4 separate regions of the Homo sapiens genome follow, and regions 1, 2 and 4 are each linked to region 3. Evidence: promoter capture Hi-C in 16 types of primary human blood cells and fetal thymus (Javierre and others, 2016). All regions are on one chromosome and are shown on one strand. The core of a region is centred on a gene start or on the middle of the fragment in contact, and the rest is flanking DNA. Distances in the headings are between cores, read along the strand shown.

The links. The method cuts DNA at HindIII sites, captures the fragments that hold promoters and counts their contacts. A CHiCAGO score of 5 or more calls a contact.
Region 1: a fragment that was not itself captured here is called in contact with the fragment with the promoter of PLSCR5-AS1 in region 3 in 9 of 17 cell types (naive CD4 T cells, monocytes, fetal thymus and 6 more); the score reaches 9.8 in naive CD4 T cells.
Region 2: a contact is called between a fragment that was not itself captured here and the fragment with the promoter of PLSCR5-AS1 in region 3, in 1 of 17 cell types (monocytes). The highest score is 6.3, in monocytes.
Region 4: a fragment that was not itself captured here is called in contact with the fragment with the promoter of PLSCR5-AS1 in region 3 in 2 of 17 cell types (naive CD8 T cells and total CD4 T cells); the score reaches 6.9 in naive CD8 T cells.

The regions. Positions count from the first base shown.
Region 1 is chr3:146,259,778-146,263,177 of GRCh38, forward strand. No RefSeq gene overlaps it. Among named protein-coding and RNA genes, the nearest start is that of PLSCR4, 10 kb to the left of the region's middle. The HindIII fragment of the contact is 516 bases long and covers 1,040-1,555 here.
Region 2 is chr3:146,294,596-146,297,999 of GRCh38, forward strand. No RefSeq gene overlaps it. Among named protein-coding and RNA genes, the nearest start is that of PLSCR4, 45 kb to the left of the region's middle. The HindIII fragment of the contact is 1,511 bases long and covers 1,392-2,902 here.
Region 3 is chr3:146,587,935-146,591,027 of GRCh38, forward strand. PLSCR5-AS1 (PLSCR5 antisense RNA 1) reads left to right here and starts at 1,668. Exons shown (of 2, transcript NR_046698.1): 1 at 1,668-1,854; 2 at 2,129-2,391. It overlaps PLSCR5 (phospholipid scramblase family member 5), which reads right to left. Exons shown (of 8, transcript NM_001085420.2): 6 at 1,719-1,880. The HindIII fragment of the contact is 1,724 bases long and covers 134-1,857 here.
Region 4 is chr3:146,279,113-146,282,575 of GRCh38, forward strand. No RefSeq gene overlaps it. Among named protein-coding and RNA genes, the nearest start is that of PLSCR4, 30 kb to the left of the region's middle. The HindIII fragment of the contact is 4,771 bases long and covers 1-3,463 here.

The DNA of each region.
Region 1 (3,400 bases), core at 48-2,547, 330 kb before region 3:
CTTTATGTCTAAATTTATGTCACTGAAACAAATGTTGGGTTAGATAAAGAATCTAATAGGTCATTTCTGAGATTAACCTCTAGGATGACAGAAATTCAGTAATCAATACCTTCTGTAATTGTTCAACCAGCTAAAAATCCATTTAGACTTTCCTTTTACATAATCCACATTTTAAAATGTCTTGCTCACAGCAATGAATATTAAAATCTCTGCTTAATGTGTTAAAAACAGTGTTTATTATGACATGCTCATGATCTCTCTACTCCACCAGTCAGGAGGGAAGGGGAAATGAGTCCATTTTATAAGATTTGATTGAGAACACAATACTGCCTTTGTTAAATGCTCAAATGCTATTATTTACAACTTCTGTACTATAAATTTGCCTGAAACTGACATTACAATGCGTTGTTAGTTGAGTTGTGTCCCCCAAAAAGATATTTTGATATGATTTTATTTAGAAATTGTCTGTATAGATGTAATCAAAATAAAAGAAAACCAATACCGTATTAGGGTGCACCCTAATCCAATAACTGTGGCCTTATAAGAAGAGAGAAATTTGGATACAGAGACAGACACACAGAGAGAACCCATGTGACAATAAAGACAGAGATTAGAGTGATGCGTCTAGATAAGGAGCACCAAGGATTGCCAGCAACCACTAGAGTCTAAGAGAGAGGCATGAAACAAATTCTTTCTGAGTCTGCAAGAAGGAAATAACCCTACCAACATATATATATATATTTTCAGTTTTCTGGCCTTCACAACTGAGAGAAAATAAAATTCCGTTGTTTTAAATGATCTCGTGTGTGGTAATTTTTTAAGGCAATACTAGGAAACTATTACAAAATGTGTGAGTGTTTCTGTGTGTAATTTCTACAAGTCAATATTTTCTTTTCTTGAAAATTGGGACACAATTCGCTTTTTACTAGTTTTCTGAATCTTCACACATTCTGTGATGTTGAAAAGAAAATTGAGAGTGATTTCAATACAATATTTTCATGATTTTTGTCCCCATGGCTATAGTTGATATGATTTTAAAAGCTTGAACTCATTTATGCTATCTGGGTCAAATTGACCTTGATACATGGAGTAGAAAGTGAGTTGCATCTCCAAGAACACAAGAATAAAGAATGTAAAAGAGCAACTGAAGTATTTGGGGGAACATACGGAACTTCTATCAATTATCATTTAAATACATCGAGAAGCATATTTAGAAATGATTGCTTACAAATGGAAAAGGATCTTAAATCTTTCTGAAGTAAAATTGCTCTAAAAACACAATGGTTAAATTTTGTTGGAAAAAACTTTATATATACTTACATATAGATATATACGCCATGCTTATATGTATGCATACACTAGATATGCTTACATGTGATTACATAAGCATGGGGAAAAATGGAAGAACAAACTACTTTTATAAATATGGGTTATCTGGGGTGTGGCAGTAGTGGAAAGAGGAAAAAAATGAGAAAACTGTGGCTTGAGAGGATAAGTAACTTGACCCAACAAGTGATGGAGCTGAGATCTGAACCAAAGTCTGTATTGAATCTAAAGCTTACTGTCATAAACTTTGTTTAAAATGTTATGATATTCAATTCAATGTAGAAAGAGACAGTAAAACAATCTTTTTCAAAAGCGTGCTCTGTTCCTTGAAATTTAATTATAGGGTATCTCTTTTTTCCTTTCACAAAGCATATTAACCAACTTTTCTGTCTATTCATAGAGATATATTTAAATCTTACTTTTTAATTTAACAATATTTTATCTTAGGTATACTTCAGACAGATTAATACAAATATATCTGTGAAATGTCTAAAACTATTTTAAATTTAGAGTATTTATACTTTACTAATGGCTAGGCCATGTGATCATTACGTATTTATATATTTTTACAAAATCCTAAAATGGTTAATGCAGTTCAACAAAAATTTGAGGAACTAGAAAATTTTTGAGGCTGGCATTCCCAAAAGCAAAAATGAGAAAAAGGAAATATTTCTTGAAGTCAGGCAAGTAATTTAACTATATATCGATGAAAAGAGTATTTTAAATTCAAATTTTGTACACGGCAGCCTCGTATGTCACAATCTGCATAATTATTATAACATCAGGGCATTTAATTCAATAGTGTGAATGTTTAAGTTGTGATTAAAGACACACAAGTTTGCCATTGTCCTTAAATGTCGATAAATAACAAATTCTTTTTGTATAGTGTCTATATGCAAAGTGAATTATTTGCTGATTTAAAGAATTTTGGCTGAATCAGATCTACTGACATTTTATGTATATATTTAGGAATGTGAGTTATTCAAGTATGTGTCAGTGATTTAAAATAATGAATGTTAAAAAATTTACTAAAGTCTTAAACATGTAATGAAAAGAGTCTATTTTTTCTACAAAATTGCTCAAGACTTCTGAAATACAAAGCTGATAATGTCACTTCCAGGTTAAAGTCTTTCATTTTTCAGGGAAGATTTTTCATTTTAAAGCCTACAGTTTTCAAGAAAACTCTTAATATGTATTGTAGAACATACAGCCCTAATTTTCTTGCATTTGCTTAATTTTTTTTTTTTGCTTCACCATGTAGCACTTCCCTGTTTTCCATGTTCTAGTGATATGCTAGATACTATATCTATCTATCTATATACATATATCTGTATCTGTATCTATATAAATTCACCATTGTATTATGTTGGTTCATGACACTGTGAGGTTTATGACTTCATAAATATTTTGCCACTGCTTTATCCTCATTTCTCCATCTGGCTACATTCCATTCATTCTCCCAGACTCATTTTAAATATCACCCACTTTGGGAATCCTTCCATGACCTCTCCATTCTGATTTACTGAGTACTTTGAGCTGGTTCTATACTAGGTGCTGGAGATTCAGTAGAAAATAAGACAGGGTTTCTGCCCTCCTAGAACTTACATTCTTGTCAGATCAGAGCCAATAAACAACGAAGTGGATTGCAAAATAATTTTAGAGCATGAAAAGTAGTTTGGAAGTAATAAAGCAAGGTGATATGGAAGATGGTGAGGTGGGACTACATTACAAATAGTATTCAGGAAAGGCATCTTGGTCACTGGAGAAAGTAACATTCATGCCAAATGATTAGAAAAAAACAACTAGGCAAACATATGGTGTTTACTAGTATTCCAGAAATAGAGAACAACTAGCATAGAGATCCTGAGGGAGGAATATTGTATGCTGACAGAACAAAACAATACAAAACAAAACAAAAATAGGTGGTGCCGGAGCAGGAGAGAGAGTGGCATGAGAATAATATGTAGTTCATGAATTCATTTTATTTTTATTTCAACTCCTTTTATATGTTTCTCCATGCAACTCCTTGCCTAGCCCTTCCTAATTCTGTTGTATTTACCCATAAAACTAATTG
Region 2 (3,404 bases), core at 897-3,396, 290 kb before region 3:
ATATTAGCCTATAGTTTTCTTTTTTTGGTATGTCTGTCTGGTTTTAATATTAAGGTAACAATGGCCTTGTAAATGAATTTGGAAGTATTTTTTTATCCTCTTTTTTAAAAAATAGTTTGGGTAGGATTGGTATTAGTTCTTCTTTAAATGTTTGGTAGAATTCAGCAGTGAATCAGTTGGGTCTCAGGCTTTTCTTTATTGAGAGACTTTTTAATTTAATGGCTTTAATCTCATTAATTGTTATTGGTTTGTTCAGGTTTTGGATTTCTTCATGGTTCAGTCTTGGTGTGTTGCATGTGTCTAGAAATGTATCCATATCTTGCACATTTTCCAATTTATTGGCATATAGTCGCTCTTAATAGCCACCAATTATCCTTTGTATTTCTGCAGTATCAAATGTAATGTCTCCCTTTTCATCTCTTATTTTATTTATTTTGGTCTTCTCCCTTATTTTCTTCATTAGTCTTATAAAAGGTTTGTGAATTTTGTTGATATTTTCAAAAAAACAAATTTTTTGTTTCACTGATATTTTGTATTGTTTATTCATTTCAAATTCATTTATTTCTGCTCTAATCTTTATTATTTATTTTCTTCTACTAACTTTATGATCAGTTTGCTCTTGCTTTTCTAGTTCTTTAACATGTATCATTATTTATCAAGTTTTTCTTCTTTTTTATGTCATCACTTATAGCTATAAATTTCCCTTTTGGTACTACTTTTGCTGTATCCCATAGGTTTGGAATAGTATGTTTCCATTATTATTTGTTTGAAGAAATTTTTCAGTTTTCTTTTTAATTTATTCATTGACCCACTGGTCATTCAGGAGCATATTTATTCTTCCTGTGTTTGTATAGTTTCCAGTATTCTTCGATTTCTAGTTTTATTGCATTGTGTTCAGAGAAGATGCTTGATATTATTTCAATTTTTTGAATGTTTTAAGATCTGTTTTGTGATGTAACATGTAGTCTATCCTTGAGAATAATCCATATGCTGAGGAGAAGAATCTGTATTCTGCAGCCTTTGGAAGAAATGTTATGTAAATATTTATTGAGTCCATTTGTTCTACAGTACTGCTTACATAATTTTTAGTGGGTTTTTTTTTTCTGGATTATAGTATAAATCCTTAATGTTTTACAGCATATTAGAGGTAGTATTATACCAATTATTATAAAAGTAGAAAGACTGAAATATATGGGTCCATTTACTCTATGCACAATCATTGTGTTACAGTTTTTATGTATAGCACATCTTTACATGTTATAAACCCTGTTGTTTATAATTGTACTATAATTTTTGCTTTAAAAATTAAAAGGAATTAAGATTAAAAAAAGTCTTTATTTCTTCATAGGCATAGAAGTTTGCAGTTGGTCTAATTTTGCTTCAGCCTGAAAAGCTTTCTTTAGCATTACTTGTAGTCCAGGTACGGTGGTGGCAAATTCTTTATTTTAATTTACCTCAAATTATCTTTATATTACCTTCAATGTTTAAGCATATTTTCACTTGATAAGGAAGTCTAGATGCACAGTTGTTCTTTGTTTGGGTATTGAATTTTGACCACAATCTCTGTATTCTGGGTACTTTTTACATGCAATTGGCAATTATTTTCTCCTAATCTGTGGCTTATCTTTTCATTCACATCAGAGGACCTTTTGCAGAGTAAAAAAAAGTTTTAAATTTTGTTGCGGTCAAATTATTTTTTCCTTTTATGTATTGTGGTTTTGTTATCAAGTTTATAAAGTCTTTGCTTAATCCTAGATCATGAAGATTTTCTCCTATTTTTTTCTTAAATTGTTATAATTTTATGTTTTACATTTATATATCTGACATGTTTGCATATAACTTTTTTGTGTAAAGTGTGAGGTTAAGCCATGTAAAATTTTGCCTTGGATGTCTAATTACTTCCACACCATTTGTTGAAAAGTCAATTTTTCCTTCATCGAATTGCTTTTGTACCTTTGTCAAAAATCAGTTGAACAAGTTTGTGCAGGTCTATTTTTCTACCCTTTCCCATTGACCTCTATGTCTATGCCTCTATCAATATCACACAGTGCTCATTATTGTAACTCTTAGATGTTACTATTCGGTATACTGAGATCTCTCTTAACTTTTTTTTCATTTTTAAAAATTATTCTAGGGCCTGTGCCCCTAGAATAAATTTTATGATAATTTTATGATAAGTAAATTTTCTGATAAGCTCTAGGTCTACAGAAAACAATTTTGAGGATTTTACAGGAATTACATTAAACTTAGAAATCAATTTGGGAAGAATTATTGTTATATTTCTATCTTCCTTCATTCCTTTATTCCTTCATTCCTTTAACCAGAATTTTATAATTTTCAGCGTACAGATTCTGTACATGTTTAAGTGAATGAGAGAAACAATTCTACCTAAAATTAAGACTTTTTAATGAATACCTAAGTATTTAATTTTCTTTGGAGTGATTATAAATGTTACGGCACTTTAAAATTTGTTTTCTACCTGCTCATTGTTAGTAGAAATGCTATTGATTTTCATGCCTTGATATGTGTCATGTGGCCTGGCTAACCTCATTTACTAGTTTTAGAAGTTTTGTTTATTTGGTTTGTAGATTTCTTGGGATTTTCCATGTAAACACATGTCAGTGTTTTGAATCTGTGGGCTTATATATTTTGCCAGATTTGGAAAGTTTTAAACATCATTATTTTTTAATGCTCTTTCAACCTACCTCTCTAATGTCATAAATGTTGGATGGTTTATTATTCTACAGGTCCTTGAGACTCTATTCATATGTTTTTTTCAGTCTATTTTCTCTCCGTTATTCAGATTGGAATAACTGCTTCCTATCTGTAAATCAGTATTCAGATTGGAACTTAACGATTCTATTCTCTGCCATCTCCATTCTACTACTGAGCCAATCTAGCAAGCTTTAAAAATTTATCTTACGTTATTTTTCAGATCTATCATTTCGATTTGTTTCCTTTAACTAAATTCTATTTCTGTTTTGCTATTTTTCATCTGTTTCAGGACAATTTGTAACTGCTTGTTGAATCATTTTTCTGTTGGTTGCTTTAAAATCACTTAACATGTAATTAAAAGTGTTACATGGATGTTAAACCTCCTGCATATTTGTATTTACATAATTTTTATTTATGTAAACGTAAATCTTACCTTTGTAATTACATAGCAAATTACATATTATTAATTTTACACATCTTTTAAATAATCACTTTATATATGGACATGCATACACAGAATAAATTTACTGTTTAAATTTCCAAAATTATTTCCCCAACAAACAGTAGATTTCATTTACTAAGACAATGGTTTTCAAGAGTGGTCCTCAGAGCAGCAGCATTAATATTATATTTGAAATACTTAGAAATACAATATTTTTGGCTCTACCCTAAGCATATTGCATGGGAAA
Region 3 (3,093 bases), core at 418-2,917:
TCAGGGAATAATTTTTAGTTCATATATTTTCCAAATATCATTAGAAGAGACTCAGTAAATAGGGCATTAATGTAAACAATCAGATTTAGCATTCTGAAACCCCAGAAAACAATAAAACATGAGAAGGAATTTAAGCTTTATAAAAATTTCATGATTACCAAAAGTGCATAACCTGAATCTAACCATGACACAAACTGAAATTAGGCCACAGTTTACAAAATAATTGGCTTATGCACTTAAAAAATGCCAATGTCGGCTGGGCAAGGTGGCTCACACCTATAATCCCAGCACTTTGGGAGGCCAAAGCGGGTGGATCACGAGGTCAGAAGATCGAGACCATCCTGGCTAACACAGTGAAACCCCATCTCTACTAAAAATACAAAAAAATTAGCCGGGTATGGTGGCACATGCCTGTAATCCCAGCTACTCGGGAGGCTGAGGCAGGAGAATCGCTTGAACCTGGGAGGCAGAGGTTGTGGTGAGCCAAGATTGCGCCACTGCACTCCAGCCTGGGTGACAGAGTGAGACTCTATCTCAAAAAATAGAACAAAAAATAAAACAAAAACAAAAATGCCAATGTCATGAGACTCAGGGAAATGCACATGCATGTGCACATGTTCATGCACACACATATACACACACACACACCCCTTAGGAACAGTTCCAGGTGAAAAGAAACAAATGAGATGTGACAAAATGGACATACTTCATGATCTTGGATTTTCTATTGTCAGAAAGGACATCATTATGCAAATCAGTGCAAACCGAATAAAGTCTGTAGATTAGATAATAGCATTGAATCAGTGTTTAGTGCCTGACTTTGACAATAGTACTGTGATGTGTAAAAAAATTCCTTGTTTTTAGGAAATGCACACTAATATAATTAGGGGAAAAGGCATCATGTCTGCAACCTACTCTCAACTCTTATGCTGTTTGTTTTAATCACTTATGTGTGTGCCTGTGTATACACATCTTTTTCATGTATTTATAGAAAATACATGTGTTTATATATCAACAAATAAAAACTCCATAAGTTTTTATGGCTGCATTGAAAATGGTAGGAAATTAGGTAAATATTAGAGGGAAAACTAAGAACAGGATATAGGTCAAGCATTTTGATACAGGTATTATTTGACTTCTGTTCTTCTATCACCAATCTCCATATACCAAAGAAGAAAAGGTTTTCAATATAATTGTAAGTTGGAAAGTAATAACAAGAACATAGTATCTTAGAAATAATGGCAACTGGTACCTATTAACTCATCAAATCATTTCATGTGTCTATGTTCACACTGAGAAGGCAACATTCTTAATATCATCTAGCTCACTATTATGCAATGAACCAGTCTGGAACTTTATCCAGGATAAATCATGTGATATTTATGTTTGCATATTTTTTAGTTCAAGTGAAAATAAGCCAAAAATCTAAATTGAACGTAAAAGCAAGGGGAAACTAGGTTTTAAAGAAATGATGAATAGGATGTGATAACACTTCAATCTTTGAGAAAGGGGATATGAGATCACTGAAGAGGGGCTGCCTAACAGAAATGCAGGGTTCTAAATTCTAATTTTTGAAGAACATTGGTCCTAAGCTATCCTTCTATGAATAAAATATACTCTTTGGGGGTAAAAACTGTGTAAATGGGATAGGCTATATTGTAATTAACAAGCAAGAGGGAGAATAACAAATCACTCATGCTCTCAAAGCCCATACTTACAAAGAGAAAACAGGCACCGATCATTGCTGCTTTGACTGTTACATCTAGATCTGCAGGAACATGAATTCCGAAATTGTCAGCATTTGTGAAGACATCATTTACAAATCCTGACCAGTACTTTGAAATCTTCCCAATTGTAAGCTTTTCATTAATGGTTTTCACCTTTAGAAAGAAAATAAGGAGTATTAAATTTGACAGTGAAAAAAGTTGGTTTTATACTTCTGAGGGTGTTTACTTCATGAGAGATTTGAATTATTTTATTTGTCATCTTCAAAATGACAATTCCATGTTATTCATTCCATCATATAAGCATAGGTTTGTAAATTTAGCTTTTCAGTTTACTTTTTAGAAACTTTGCTTTTTTGACAGTTTTCTAGTCCATCATAATTCTTTTTCTTTTTTGTATGCAGATGGAGAATATCAGGATAAATAATTAAGGCTCAGCCACCACAAGATGGCAGCAGGTACATAGTTCAATTGTATCATCTAAGCATGAAGGCGATTTCTTTACTTGAGGTCCAGATTTTAAACCTGAATTCTCCATCTTAAAAATGTAAAAGAAGATATGTTTGAAAAAATATTTCAGAAGGAATTAAATTAATTTCTAGGCATAATTTGTAAACTTTCAAATTTCAGTTGCTAAAATTTTATAATTATTAAAACATTTAAATATTATTGGCCATTGTTAAATCACATTTTTATATTATACTCAGACATTTATTAGGTCAATACTTTCTAACAAATCCTAAATCCTATTTTTACATTAAAAAAATCCTCCTGGTTAATGTACCATATAGGAAGTTAAGACCAACTAGACATCAATCAGTCCTTCTCAGCTAGAAGGAGTTCACAAATCAACTTTATCAGCTATTTGTTTGTTTATTCTGCTTCCCATCCTGATGCTGAAAGTAATTCAAGAGAAACTATCACTTTTTTCAGGGTAGTAAAAGATAGAGAATAGAGAGGGTTACTTAGGACATTTCTATAGCATGAATGCTAAAACTCTTATGTTTAAAGTCCTCCTCAATCATATTACTCGTAGGAAAGTCATGCCAAATCCTTTGGGGATAGGGTGAAGTTGGAACAGCTCAGTTTGCAAAATTTGCATTGTATTCTACGTGCATAGTGTTTCCTGAAGTCCTGAGAACTAAATGCCCTTGCTGAGATATTTATGTATGAATGGATGAAAAATAAATATACACTTTCAATTAGGCTGTCTCCTCTACCTAAGTTGTATGTCCAGGACAACCTGTTAAGATAGTTTATATTGCTACAGATCAAATTTACAACTTTCTATTTTTTAAATATTCAATTTATACAAATACGAGAATAAGGTTTTTTTTTGTTTTTTTTTTTTGTTTTTTTTACAAAACTA
Region 4 (3,463 bases), core at 101-2,600, 310 kb before region 3:
TTTGACCCAGAATGGCTATGTTTGGACAGCATTCCTAGCAGTAGGAAAGGGTTCCTGAGCCAGTATGTGAGTTTCAATACAGCTAGAGGGTAAGAAAATGGACTCTGGCCCCAGGATATCTGGATTTGAACTTGAGCTTTACAACTCACTAAAGGGGAGATGACTTCCAGGAAGTTATCAAACTTCCTTTTGCCTCCGTTTCTTCCACAGTAAAAAAGGGGTAATATTAGTACCTGTCCTAGAGGTTTGTTATGGAATGAAATGTGTCAATACATAAAAAGTGCTTGTGAGAGGCTCTGTAAGTAATATGTTAGCTTCCCCTCCACCCTCAAGAAGCCTGCATCACTGATGATTTATCTTGGAATAGGAAAGTCAAATGACAATTAATGCTGATCACTAGATTTGTGACCTTGGTAATTTCACTTCACCCATCTTTATGTTTCTCTCTGGTAAATAAGGTTAAGAATTCCTGGGGACATTTTGCTAAGTGAAATAAGACAGCGACAGAAGATCAATGACCTGATTCCACTTATATGAGGTAACTAAAATAGTCAACTCATAGTAGCAGAGATTAGAATGGTTGCCAGGGGCTAGATGGAGGGGGAAATAGGGAGTTGCTATTCAATGGGCATAACGTTTCAATTTTGTAAGATGGATGTTAGATCTGCTGTATAAAATTGTGCTTAAAGTTTACAATACTGTATTAAAACTTACACATTTGTTTAGAAGGTAGATCTCATTAACTGTTCTTGCCACAGTTTTTTTGTAAAGCTACAATTTTGCCTCAGTTATTCCACAATGACTTACTAAGATTTCTCTTCCAAAGACCGGGAGCAGCACACAGCAGCAAGCATCACGTAATGTACGTAAGAACTCACAGGCAGAGGGTCAGCAGGAATGAGGGTCTCTTGTTTTTGTAATATGCTAGAGAGTTGTGATTGGACCATGGAGCTGGGTCCTGGCAGAGATATTCTGCCCCTCGCTGCTTTTTTTGTTTTTTTTTTTTAATGGAATAAGCATAACAATGATCTTGCTCAGGGTAATAGACACTTTCAGTTTTGGGGCCAGTTTCTTAATGATGTACTTTAAAAAGCCAGTTCTCTAGCACTGGAAGACAATGAAAAAAGTTGCCAGGCCACCCAGAGAGAGAGCTTCACAGTCCAAAATTAGCACTCCTGCTTTTCTGTATAAGACTGAAAGACAAAACATAAATAAATGAATCTTTAAAATTATTAAGCATGGTGTAATTTAAATGGATGTACCTATGAGTATCAAAAACTAATTTTGAATGATTATAATGAAGAATACAATATACAACATATATAATGCATTATATTATGTTCTTAATCCTAAATTTATAACTTTTACTTAAATATTAAAAACATCTAAAAGTATTTTTAATCATGAATCAAACTTTTGATTAGTAGCTCACAACTGAGAATGCGATAAAATTGATAGCCAAGGGGGCAAGAAAAAAAAACTCCAAAAGACTGTTTTAATTAGTATACAGTTGTTCCTTGGAATCCATGGGTGATTGGTTCCAGAATCCCTACCAAAATCTATGGATGCTCAAGCTCCTCATATAAAAAAGTTGTAGCACAATAAATTCTCATCATCATTGATAAGTTCTTGGAAACTGCAACTTTAAGTAAAACAATGTATAACAAAATCTATTTAATCATAGGCTAATTGACATAAATAAGAATTAAGTTCTTATGGCATATTTCTTGTCACAAAAACATCACCAAACTTCTAATTAAAGACCAAAACACTTCTGATATTCAACAGTGAAATAAATGTGAGCTATATATACCTTTAAGAAAGGCTCAAAAAAACAAATCAGATAAATGTTTATCCAACTACTCCAGTTCAGGATCCCGGGTAGCTGGAGCCTATCCCAGCAGCCCAGGGCCAAGGCTGACACCATTCCATTGCTGGGAGCAATTAGGCACACACACCCACACTCACTTAGAATGGGACCATTTTGACATGCCAGTTAAACTAACATGCACATCTTTGGAACGTGAGAGGAAATCAGAATGCCTGCAGAAAACCCACACAGACATGGAGAGAACGTGCAAACTCAACACAGACGTGGTCCAGGCCAAGAATTGATTTTTTTTCTCTTCAATGTTACAACAAAACAACATTCATGCTGTACTTGCATATAACCTATGCACATCCTCCCATGTACTTTAAATCATCTCTAGATTATTTATAATGCCTAATACAATTTAAATGCCATATAAATAGTTGTATTACTGCATTGATTAGGGAATCATGACAAAAAAATCTACATGTTCAGTACAAAGTCAATCATCCATTTTAATTTTTCTGATTATTTTCGATCCATGGTTGGTTGAATCCACAGATGAGGAACCCGTGGATATGAACAGCCATCTGTAATTAATACTCTAAAACAAATACCAAAATTTTAAAGCCACAAATTTTTATACATTCTTATTTTATAACACATAACATTATTTGTAAATTCATAAGAATAGAACTTACAAGTATAATTTATATGTGATGTTGGCATGTGAATGAAAGTTTAATTTGCATAACTATATTTCAGTAATGAAACTCAAAATAACTTGTCCCAAATCCAATAGTTGATATGTGATAGAGCTAGGATTCTGACCTGAACTTGCTATATTCTAATGCCTATGGTATCCAGTACTAGACAGAATAGGAGAGATTTAGCTGGCTTCAATATTTAAAGTGACATTACCTTCTGGACAGGGCTGGCTTTGTGGGCCTAGGAGTTGTGCAGTTGCATGTGGCTTAATGTGTTACATCTTCATCTTGAAGATATTAATATTTTTTTAAAAGGGGCTCAGCATTTTTAGTCTGCCCTGGGCTCACTGAATTATGTAGCCAGTCCTGTTTTTGGAAAAGATACAGACAACTCTTTAAATAGTCTCTGTGTTTGTAATCAGTGTGATAAAAATATAGAGTAAGCAACCAGCAAAGTTGTTCCTGGACAACCCTGGGATCAGCATGCTCACTTGCTGAAGTGCTCTCCATCCATGGTGATGTCTTCTGGAGTTCTCCAAAAGAAGATACCCCACTGGGTCTTTCTGTAGCTGTCTAGAATGCTCTTTGTTAGGCTTGAGCACACCTCCTAGCAAGCCACAGGACATGGAACAAATATGACTTCTAAAATCCTCAAAGGATACTTTGAACCTTCTCAGAATTTATCTTCAAAATGAGAGACAAGTGGGAATTGATAGAAGAAGGGAAGAAGAGAGAGAATGAAGAAGGCAGGGAGAAAAAGAGAGAGAGGGAGAGGGAGTGAGAATAACAATGTCTATAGACTTTGTTATAGAAAAAGAATGTATTTATATCCTACCTGTAAAGATTGTATTGCTCTCTCATTTCATTTCTATAATGGCGTATATGAAGTTCTTTAATTCCCCCATCACCTGGTAGAGGTTTATATGTATTGCTCCTCTACTAACTT